Regions from separate parts of the Homo sapiens genome. Here all the other regions are linked to region 3. Evidence: promoter capture Hi-C in 16 types of primary human blood cells and fetal thymus (Javierre and others, 2016). All regions are on one chromosome and are shown on one strand. Each heading gives the region's core, a stretch centred on a gene start or on the middle of the fragment in contact. The rest is flanking DNA. Distances are from core to core; before and after follow the strand shown.

Region 1 (3,903 bases), core at 171-2,670, 65 kb before region 3:
ATCTTCTGATCACATCAGATAGTGCATGTTTCTCTCCCTAAGAGACAGTGGGCCCTGAAGGTAGCTTCCCACAAGCCCAGGCCCCAAGAGATCAGTCCTCAGAGGCAGGCCTCCCTGGTTTCCCCTTCCCTGAATCTGAGGCTCCCAAGCTGCCTGGTGACCCTTCTAATCTTCCCCCACCGAGGCCTCCAACCTACCTGTGCTTGTTGGGAGCCAGGGAAGAGTCCACATAGGAGACGTGGTTGGGGCTAAAGAGAAAAGACAGCAGACAATGACTCTCCAGGGGCCCAGAAGAGAGTAGGGTCTACCCCATACATAAGAGGAGGTAGGGGCCCAGAGCCAGACCCTCAGGATGTCTTAAGCCAGGAGTGGTCTGTGCCTAAGATCTGCATGACAGAGTTGTTGGTGTGTGTGTGTTAGTGTGTGTGTGAAAAGAAGAGTTGTGGGTGTGCCTGTGTAAGACAAAGAGAGACGCAGAGTGACAGACAGACTGTGTCTCTGTCCAGGGACCTCTGAGGGTACCTTCCCAACAATTGAGGCCAGGATGTACCGGGTGGAGGAGAGGTGAGAGTCCATGTTTGGGGACAGGATCTTTGCTCCCCTTGGACCACAGCAGAATACCTGGCAGGATGGGGGATGATAGAGGCATGGGAGGGGGTGCATGACATTTCCTTCAGGTCCCTGGGGGGTGGCACAGAGGTATTTCCTCAAGAAAAGAGCTCACCTGGAGACACCACCAGGCTGATATTTCTAAGAACAGTGATGATGTTTTCGGAAGCGTTGTAGATTCCACACCAGTAGAATCCCGAGTCATTCTGTGTCAGCTGAATCATGGTGATGTTGAAGAAGCCAGCATTGGGCTTGTCCCAGATTGTGTAATGAGACTTCTGAACTGCTGTCCAGGGCTTGGAGCTGGTGACAAGTAAGGTACACCGACTTGGAGATGTCTGCTGACACCAGGATTTGGGCTGATAGGGCCCTCTCTTGGGTGAGTACTGGCATTGCAGGAGGAGGGTCTGTCCTGGGTGTTTGTGAAGTTCTTCAGGCACAGCACCCTTTACCCAGGAACCGGCAGAAAGAAACCCAGGTCAGAGCTCTGAAGGGACCCAACCTCCCCCATCACAGGCTGGGGAAGGGGAGGGGGAACTAGTTCTGATGCCCACACATGGAAGAGGGCCCCTAAATTCTGTCCTATGGTCACACAGCCATGCTGCTCCCTGCCCCACTCATTCTTCATCCCACTCCTTACACCCCCTGCACTCTTTCCCTCCATGTCACCTGAGGCCAGGAGCAGCAGCAGCACAGGTGGAAGCAGCAGGTGTGGACCCCACCCCAGGCCATTCCAGCCCAGATCTGTTTCTGACAGCGGAGGAGAGGAGAAAAAAGGGAGCCCTCTCAGGAGGAGTCAGACGCTGGGTCTGATTCTGCCCCAGGTTCCCAGTGTCTCTCAGCTGGTAAAATTGAGGAAGTCAATGTCTTGCTGGGGAAATGGTCGGCCTGGGAGGGCGGGCTCTGCAGACCAGGGGAGGAGGGGCAGCCAGGCCTTGAAAGGGGCCACCAGCTACAGGGTCTGTCTCTGGGCCTGGGCACCTCAGCCCTGCTGTGTTGCTCTGCCGCCTTTCACTGAACTTCTCCCCATGTCTGCTGCTTTATGCCTTCCAGCCAGTCATACTGCTCCTCTATTGCTAGGGGCAGCTCTCAGCATGGCCAAGAATAAAGCTGGTGAATAAAGCTGGGGTCATCCCTCTTTCCTTCTCTCTGTGCACTTCCTATAGGTGGTCAGGGCCCTTGGAGGCACGACCAGACCCCTGAATCCTTCTGGTCTAGCCATGGTGGGTTGATGATGAGTTTTGACCCTGAGACATTTTGTAGAGGGCAGATTTTAATCCCAGGAATTACAAGATGTTCCCTGGAAATGGTGGGGCCAGGAAAGCAGGGAGGAAAGAGAGTGCTGGTCAGGGAAAGTTGGAGGGGAAGGCAGGTAGGAGTGGATCAGTTATGGTAGCTTGGGATCATCTCAATCAGTGCTTGTTGGATGAATACATCAGTGGATGAAAGAACAACGCGTGTGTAAAATGTACAGAAAAAGAAAATGGCCGAAGTGAGAACTATCTAGCAACAAAACCAAGTGGTACTGGATTACTACCCAATGTATATATTAAATCTCTAGGAGTCCATGCTGATGTAAGTAAATGACTGAATAAAGAACTGGGGGGGGGAATAGACAAATATCCCATGCATAAGGATTCTGCTGTGTTCAGAATGTTGTTCCCCCATCTCATATATTCAAACTTAATTTCCATGTGATAGCGTTAAGAGGTGGGATCTTGTGGGAAAATCTTAAGTCATGAGGGCGTCATCCTCAAGAATGCAATTAATGCCCTTATACCAGAGATTGCAGGAAGCAGATTTGCGCTGTCTGCCATATGAGGACAGTGTTCATGCCTTCAGTCAACTGAGGTTACTGCAAGAAAGCACCACCTTGGAAGCAGAGAGCAGCCCTCAGCAGATACCACATCCACTGACACCTTGATCTTTGACTTCCCAGACTCCAGAACTTTGAGAAAGAGATTTCTATTATTTAGAAAGTCTCCAGTCTAAGGCATCTTCTCATAGCAGCCTGAAGGGACTGAGAGAGATTGCAAACAATTCTTATAGGTATTCTGCCCTCAAGGCAGAAGCATAAATTCCCACGGCTTAAGCATGGGCTGTGCAGGTGACTTTCCTCCAGAGGATAGCATGGGAAGGAAGAGAAGAGTAACTGTACAGTGGAGAAACCTGACACTTACTGTGGCAGCCAGGCAACCAAAGTGCAGACCCACAGGGATAACTCAGGTTGTTAGAATGTGTCATTGACTTGATGTGATGACAGGGCAATTAGCTGTGCAGTCTCCTTCCCCAAAGCCGCTGGCCCCAGGAGAAAAACATCAAACAAATTCCACATGAGGGACATTCTACAAAATACCTGAGCAGCGTTCCTCAAAACTGTCAAGGCCATCAAAACTAAGAAATAATTCTCAGAAACTGCTATGAATAAGAGGAGCCTAAGCAGACATGAAGACTAAAAGCAATGTGGCTTCCTAGGTGGGATCCTGGAGCACAGAAAGTACATGAGGTAAAAGCCAGGGTAATCTGAATGAAGTAAGGACTTCAATTAATAAAATCTACCACAGAAACAGAGTAGAATGGCATTACCAGAGGCTGGGAATTGGACAAACTGGGTAGGTATTGTTGAAGAAACACAATATGTTAGACAGAAAAAATAAGTTCAAGAGATCTATTGCACAGTATGGTGAGTGCAGTTCATAACTATGAATTGTACAATTGAAAATGACAGAAAATAGATTTTAAATGTTCTCACCACAAAACAAGTAAGTATATGTGGTATTGCTTGATTTAGTAATTTCACAGTTAATACACACATCAAACTATCCTACCACGCATTATAAATATATGAGTTCTACTCATCAATTTTGTAAAATTATAGTAATGTATCAATATCAACTCATTAATTGTGAGAAATGTAGCATACTATTGGACTATATTAATAATAGAAGACATTGAACATAGCACATCAGGGAAGTATGCAATACCTACACAACTCTTCTGTGAATCTGAAAGCATTCTAAGTGTAAAAGATTAGTTTTAATATGTATAGAAACGATTTACACAAAGCATATGAATAATCACTTGATACATAACAAACAGCGTGTACATAACAAACAGCAAAGTTTTAAGAAATCTTAGTACGGCTAGGTGTAAAGCACCTACTAACACTTGATGGTAATAAGAGTCATTTTCTTAAACACACTGAAGTTTCTAAGAAAAGTATGATAAATTCTGGAAGAGGAAAATAGGAATTTATTCTCTGCATCTGTATCATTTGATGCCTTCAGTGTGATA
Region 2 (3,447 bases), core at 665-3,164, 100 kb after region 3:
GGAAGACAGGCATGTCCCAGATGGCTGTACATGTCATTGCTGTCTCTTGGTGGCAGCAGGAATACCTTGGTAAAACAAACAAAGAAAATGTGTTACTGAGAGCTCTGCTGGCCCCGAACAATGACTAGTTTCTTTTTGAACTAAGGTTTCTGTGTGCCCTTCCCAACAAGTCCCTGGATTTCTCCTCCATAGTTTCCTTTGCAGGATTGGGTAAATTTACCAGGATTGACTAAACCAGAAGCCAGTCTTTCGTTCATGTTTTGATGTGGTTTACACAGAAAAAGCCCCAGAAGAGATCTGGTTTAACTCTGGTCTTTTGACTAAATATAGGATTAAATACTATTTTGTCATTAAAAAAAAAAAAAAGAAAGATGAAATAAGTATGTAAAATAAGACACTTTATTTAACAAATGCTCATTTCTCAAGATTATTTTAATTAAGCAGGGTTGTTCTTTTGGGCTTTTAGATTACACTCTTATCTCATGCCAGTTTTTTTTTTTTTAACTTGATATATCTTAACCTTTCCCTTCACAAACATGAGCAATTCAAATAGAAGACAGGGAAGCATGTTAATGGGTCCAGATAATACAGTTATATTTGAAATCACTGAAAAAAAAAAAAAAAAAAAAAAGCTCTAAGGACTTGCTAGTTAGGCACCTGGGCCCTTGACTCTGAAAGATGTCTGAAAGGAAAATATACTGGGGTTAAATTTTAAGCTGCCGGTTAGTCTGTAGAATCTATGTTGGGTTTATAATTACAGTGATAGTACATACACTAACAAAATCTTCAAGGAATTCTAAAAGTTAAATTTTATATTCTCAGAGGGCACCCTCAGAAATCTGTTTTGACTACTGTTCACCACTATAAAGTGTCTTATTTTATGTGAGCAGAGTACCACACAGTATACCCTATCATAGGCTCACTGACTTCAGTGACTGGGTCCTGCTTTTTAAAAGAAATGGCTGAAAGTTGTATCTTCATGGGTTGGCAAATGCTCAGCTTGAGAATGATCAGGTGCCCATGTGCATGTCTAATAGAAAACACCTGCCAACATCAAGCTCTGGAACATTGATATTTCCTAAACGTGTCTATGAAGCGACATCTTCTCTTAAGGGTGTTAGGAGTGAGAGAGACCAAAAGTAAATTATCTTCATGGAAGCTTGTTGTTTTCATGTTTTAGTAATATGTGAGTTGTTGCAGGATTAAAGTTGGGTAAGAGTGTCGTGAGTACCCCTCCTCTATTACTGGAAGATTTTGATCAGTAACTGGGGCCTTGCAAAGGGGGCTTCGTCATAGCATTTCTGTAGGCGCAAACTCAATCAGACTAAATGTAAAAAAGATAGTAAAGGATCCTTTAGCCCTCTTTCCTGAGGGTAATTAGCCTGTTTCTGTTAGAGTTTAATTTACCCTCAGCAAGAGGCCAAATTGGCCTTAATTGTGTCCTAATTATTTGCTTAAATAGCTAATCTTTCTCCTATCACCTCTTGATATCTGTAAGAGGTTACTTCTGAGCTGCTGCCTACTTTACAAATGTCTTTTTAACTCTTTAAATGTTCCTGCATGGACTAGCTTGTTGCTATATTATCCCCATTCCTGCATTCGACATCCTCCATGAATTCTACTGAGGTCTTCTCAACATAAGGAAAATGTTCCCGTATTGTATTTTCACACAGCAATTGTTGGTCTCCTTCAAAGTGTAGCCATTTGTTTGAAAACATGAAAGCAGGTCTGGCTTAAAACAAGTTAAATACCAGTCCATTTGGGGAATTTCAAAATTACCATAAGTGAAAAAATTGTCCCTGAAGGACTAAAAAACATTCATTAGAGAAAAATGGAATGGTAAGATTGCCAGTGGATATGGGAGTGAGGCATCTAGAAGATGTCTGGAATTAGTAATCCCTGACATGTACACAGGGGCATACTCAGAGGATTTCAGTATCTTCTCTGCTGTGGTTCAGTAGCAGGTGCTTGCACCATCTAAATCTTACCAAAGAACGTCATCTTGCCTCATGAAAGTTTTAGGATTCCTGTCAACCTTGAGTATTCTAAGTTAGGGGAAAGTTACTTTGATACAAAAGTGTGGGAGGGAAAAGTTTAGAGAGGGATTCAGAGGAAAGAGACATGTTCTAAACTATTTTTGCAACCAGTCAAAAGCAGAGAAATGAAACCCTTCCAAAGGAAAATCAGACATATCACAGATTCTACCTGACCTCACACCTTCTACTGGAGTTAACATAATAAAGTGTTGGTGCCATGGCACCAGGAAAACTCACGTGAGGCAAAGCCCAGTTGCCCTACTTCAGGATGTCTGCCAACTTCTCCTCGTAGTATAGGAAGTTCTCCTGAATGTCCTCCCAGGGCTGAAAGGCCTTGGATTCACCCTCTTCTTGCTCCACAAAATTCTGCCAGACATATTCGAAGTCCTGGGGCTTCATGATGCGCAGTTTACAGCCAGCCTCCTTCAGCTTCTTCAGAGCAGCCTGGATCTCCGGCTCCTCCCACATGAAGAGTCGACCCACCAGAATGAGCAGACGCAGGTTCTTGGTCTTGCTAAGGGTTTTGATAATGCGGTCAGCACACGCTGCACAGGGGCTGGAGGACACATACCAGGTGACATTGTACCGCAGGGCTGGGTCGAAGGCTGGCAGGATGGTGTTGAAGAAAGCTTCCTCTGCATGGGCAGCCGCATGCTCATCCTCTAGGTATCCCCGAGATGCCTGCACTTGGCCCCCCTTGCCCTGTGCTTCAACCACATAGCAGAGGAAGGTCTTGTTCCTCCCGGAACTGTACTCCACATTCCGGAACTGGAATTTAAAGAAGTTGGCAGGCAGCCGTTCTCTGTAGGTCAAGGAGACAAAAGGACAGGAAAGAATGATAAGTTCTTGTTTCTAGAACCAGCCTAGAGTAGGTAGCTCTTCCAGGTCAGTACTTCAGAAATGCATTCACTCTTACTATAAATAGGTCTTGTCTGTGGTAACATCAGTGACAAAAAAAAAAAAAAAAAAAAAAGCATTAAAAAATCCAGAAGGGTTTATCTGAAGGAGAGGAGAATTTGGACTGAGGTGTGCATTTTGGTCACCCTACTAGGACATTGTCTCCACCATCACTCTTCCAGCACAACATACCCCTACATTTCTAAATCACTGAATCTTTAACCTGCCTATACCTTAGAATCACCTAGAAGACTGAGAATGTCAGTGCCTGGGCCTCATGCCAAACCAATTAAATCAGAACATGTGGAGAGGTGGTCCAAGCATCAGTATTTTTAAAAAGCTCTCTGGATGATTCCAATAAGTGGCCAGGTAAGTAGCAAGCATATAAAATTTCTCATGACAGAGCAAAACAAAGATTTTGCAGAGCATTTTATGCTTTTTTCTCTTCCTTGTAACTCATGTAAATTGCATCTTGGCATGAAATGGCCTAAAACTTGCAATAACATGCTCTCCT
Region 3 (3,706 bases), core at 1,125-3,624:
TGTCTCAAAAAAAAAAAAAAAAAAAAAAAAAAAAGATGCTGCTAATGCTGCTAAGGAAATGAGAAAAAAAGTTACAGACTAGAAGAAAATATTTGCAAATCACATATCTGATAAAGGACTGCTATCCAGAATAAAAAGAATTTTCACAGCTCAATAATAATGATAATAATAAACAATTAAAAATGGACAGGACAAAAGTTTTGAACTAATACTTTGCTGAAGAAGGTACAGATGGCAATAAACAACAAAAAGATGTCCAATATCGTTACTCACTAGAAAAATACAAGTTAAAATTGAAGGAGATATCACCTTAAACCTATTAGAAAGGCTTTTTAAAACCTGACAATATTAACTGTTGACAAGGATGTAAAAATGGTACAGCCTCTTTGGAAAAGACTTTGGCAGCTTTTATAGACTTAAACATACACTTACATGTGACCCAGCAGTCCCATTCTTAGGATTTTATCCAAGGGTAATAGAAACATATGTCCACACAAAACATATGTACATGAATGTTTATAGTGGCTTCATTTATAATTGTCCCAAACTGGAAACAACCCAAATATCCATCAGCGGGTGAATGAATACGCTACTTGTGGTTCAACCATAGAATGAAAGATGGTTTAGCAATAAAAAGGAATACATTCTTGAGAAGTGAAACTTCACGCATGCTGAATTTATTCTGATGAGTGAATAAAGACTGACCCAAGAGGCTACATACTATTTAATTCCATGTCTATGACATTTTAGGAAGGGCAGGAAGCTACAGAAACAGATGTCAGCTTAGTAGTTGCCAGGCCCTGGATTGGAGAGAAAGAGACTGGCTAAAATGGGCACAAAGGCTCTCGCTTAAGCTAAATGAAACTTTCTATATTATGGTATTGTGTTACACAGACATGGTGATTGTGGTGGTTGTTATAGAGATGCATGAGTTTGTCAACATTTACACAACTAGACATTTAAAAGGGGTAAATTTTTGTATATGTAAATTATGGGCCAATAAACCTGACTTCTAGAAAAAGACCCTAGAAGAGTACCTACAGAGTGATCTTCAGGCAGCCTCAGACTTCAGCCCCCAGGCCCTTGGGGCAAGGCCGGGCAGTTGGCCCTTTGAGTGGAGGCCTGTCTTCTCCTCACTATGAATTCCCCATCTCCAAGCACATTCCCTGTCCGTAAGTTAGATGCACAGTAAATATGAGTAAATAAATGAATAAAAGAACAAATAAGTGAGTGTTTGCAGGAAACTAAAGTAGACCCTGATAATCTACAGGCTCCTGCAGGCTTCTCCAGCCTCTTCTGCCACTCCCAGCACAACTCCATTTCCCACTCCTAGAATTGACTCAAGCCTCCTCCATCCAATCCCCGACTCACTGGGCCATTTCACACTTTTGTGCCTTTGCACACGTGGGTCCCTGTGCTTGGATCACCATGGGAACCTGTACGTGTAGAAAAACACACCCCTACCCCCAGAACTCTGAGAAATATCCTGTCCTGTCCTGTAGGATAGGATGATCAGGAGTTCAAGCATGTGTGTGCACAAAATAAACACCAGTGTGAGCATGTGTGCACAGGAGACACCCAACAGTTCCAAGAAGGCTAAACTTGGGCAGAAAATTCCAGGTGGGAGAGAAAATTTTCTGTCTTATGGACAGCCCATTTCCCTTTTCCCTTCTAACTAGGATAATGGTAATAGTTAGTATTTGTTGAATGCTGTGTGTCAGGCCCTACTGGAAAGCACTTTACCTGTAGGAACCCATATGGTGCTCCTGATAACCCTTTGCACTATCATTATTCCCACTGTATAGATCAGGGAACAGACACAGGTAGGTTTTGGATGTGTGGTTACACACCCAGAAAGTCAGGAAGTCTGGCTCCAGAGCTGTGTACTTAACTGCTGCCACACTACAGGAATGACAGCCCTGGGGGGATGAACTAAGAGGTGCTGGATGAGGGTCCTGGCCTCTAAAGGCACAGCTGTTCTCCAACTCTTGCAAGGCTGAAACCAGAAGATGGCGGGCATTGCAGCTGGTGGAGGGTCTGAATACAGCTGTGAGGATAGTGATCCCTGGGCTAGGCTCTGCAAGGAAACTGAGCAGTGCAGGGCCTTACCAGCCCCAACCATCTGGGGGCCACCCTGGCTGGCACCAGCAGGAGGGTGGGCTGGCTTCTCAGAGGTCTGGGAGACTCAGCCTCCTTCTGCCAGGGCTGCAGTGGCCGACTCCTCCTCCCCTCTGTCCCCACCCTGCACCGCCTCCAGACCCCAGTCCTGACTATTGCTTAATCCCCAGGAGCCCAGTTCCTGTGGGCAGCGCCTGACATGCCTGATCCTCTCTTTTCTGCAGTTCAAGGGAAAGACGAGATCTTGCACAAGGCACTCTGCTTCTGCCCTTGGCTGGGGAAGGGTGGCATGGAGCCTCTCCGGCTGCTCATCTTACTCTTTGTCACAGGTAGGATCCCCTCCGTGCCCTGTGATGCCTTCTCTCCCTCACTTTGAGCATGTGGTTGGGGCGCGGGTGGTGGGCCCTGGGGTGAATTATGAAGGCGGTGGCAGTCCTCGCATGCCTGAGTGCCCTGTTCTGCACTCCTCTCCTCCCCACCCTGCCCATATTCTTCACACCCTCCTTCCCTCCCCAGTATCAAAACCTACCCTCAGACTCTTTCTGCATGTGGACATGTAAGGGGCTGGTGGACTCTGGTTGCATTGGAAGGGAAGGAGTGCTAACAGTGGCATCCCAGGCACTAGCTGGCAGTTGGGGGAAGCTTTGGGGGGCACTGGCACTGGTAATAGCCTCTGAAATTATAAGCCACTAATTATGAGCCCCTACAGTTATAAAGGAGGAAAGAACCTGAGGATGTTCATCTGCATCTTTGGGGCACTCTCTCCCCTGCTCTGAAGGTCCCCTTGTCCTCAGCTCTTGATGGGAGGTGAGGAGCGTAGAGATTTCCGTTGCTGAGTTGAGGGGAATTGACACACCAAATTTTTGTACACAATTGCTTCTTCCCGCTGAGGAAAGCGCACCTTTTGCTCCCCCAGAGCACTGGACAAACCTGGGCAAGAGGAGAGACGGTGCCAAATGGAGTCTTGTTCCTGCAGCTTCTTAGATGGTGGTCAGGGGGAAGGCGGGGTTCTGAGGCATGGATGGGAGGTGGTCAGATGGGAGAGGGCCACGGCCCATCTGGTCTCTCTAGTTCCAAAAGGCAAGCCACCAACTTCCCAATCCTATCTTTCAAGCCTCTGTCACAGTAATGGTTGAAGATGGCAGGCAAGGGAGGACCAAGAGAGAAGTCAAAGCAGGGGGCTCTGGGGGCTGCCCCAGCAACAGGCTGGTGCTCTAAGCCCATCTCCCCCGCCCTAAGGAGGGTTCCCAAAATAGCAGCCTCATGTCTCCCCCAAAATATCTCCGAGACGGGTCCTTCCTGAAAGGGGAACAAAGCCACAGAAATAGGGAAGCTGGAAGTTAAAGGTCAGGAAAGTCGGTACCAATGTGGGCGGCTGCAGAGCAAGCAAGAGTGGCGGGGCAGGGAGAGCCAGCCCCAGGCCGAGAGGAGAGGTCCCAGTCCCAAATGATGGCAAAGAGATGTGCAGAACAGAACTGGAGGGGGTTTTAAGACCAAGTGCCTCCAGAATAGACCCAGAGAAGGTCAGTTACTTCTCCAAGGAGGCCCAGCAAGAGCAACAGTGAGAAAACCAAACCCAGGTCCCAGG

What was found. Contacts are between HindIII fragments. The CHiCAGO score rates a contact against its expected background, and 5 or more counts as called.
Region 1: the fragment with the promoter of TREML4 here is called in contact with the fragment with the promoter of TREM2 in region 3 in 2 of 17 cell types (neutrophils and monocytes); the score reaches 9.3 in neutrophils.
Region 2: a fragment that was not itself captured here is called in contact with the fragment with the promoter of TREM2 in region 3 in 1 of 17 cell types (neutrophils); the score reaches 6.2 in neutrophils.

Annotation. Positions count from the first base shown.
Region 1 is chr6:41,225,866-41,229,768 of GRCh38, reverse strand. It overlaps TREML4 (triggering receptor expressed on myeloid cells like 4), which reads right to left and starts at 1,420. Exons shown (of 6, transcript NM_198153.3): 1 at 1,279-1,420; 2 at 725-1,055; 3 at 198-248. The coding sequence starts at 1,341. The HindIII fragment of the contact is 15,987 bases long and covers 1-3,903 here.
Region 2 is chr6:41,060,719-41,064,165 of GRCh38, reverse strand. It overlaps APOBEC2 (apolipoprotein B mRNA editing enzyme catalytic subunit 2), which reads right to left. Exons shown (of 3, transcript NM_006789.4): 2 at 2,274-2,838; 3 at 1-65. The coding sequence ends at 2,295. Among named protein-coding and RNA genes, the nearest start is that of APOBEC2, 9.2 kb to the right of the region's middle. The HindIII fragment of the contact is 1,506 bases long and covers 1,162-2,667 here.
Region 3 is chr6:41,161,784-41,165,489 of GRCh38, reverse strand. It overlaps TREM2 (triggering receptor expressed on myeloid cells 2), which reads left to right and starts at 2,374. Exons shown (of 5, transcript NM_018965.4): 1 at 2,374-2,447. The coding sequence starts at 2,408. The HindIII fragment of the contact is 7,981 bases long and covers 1-2,762 here.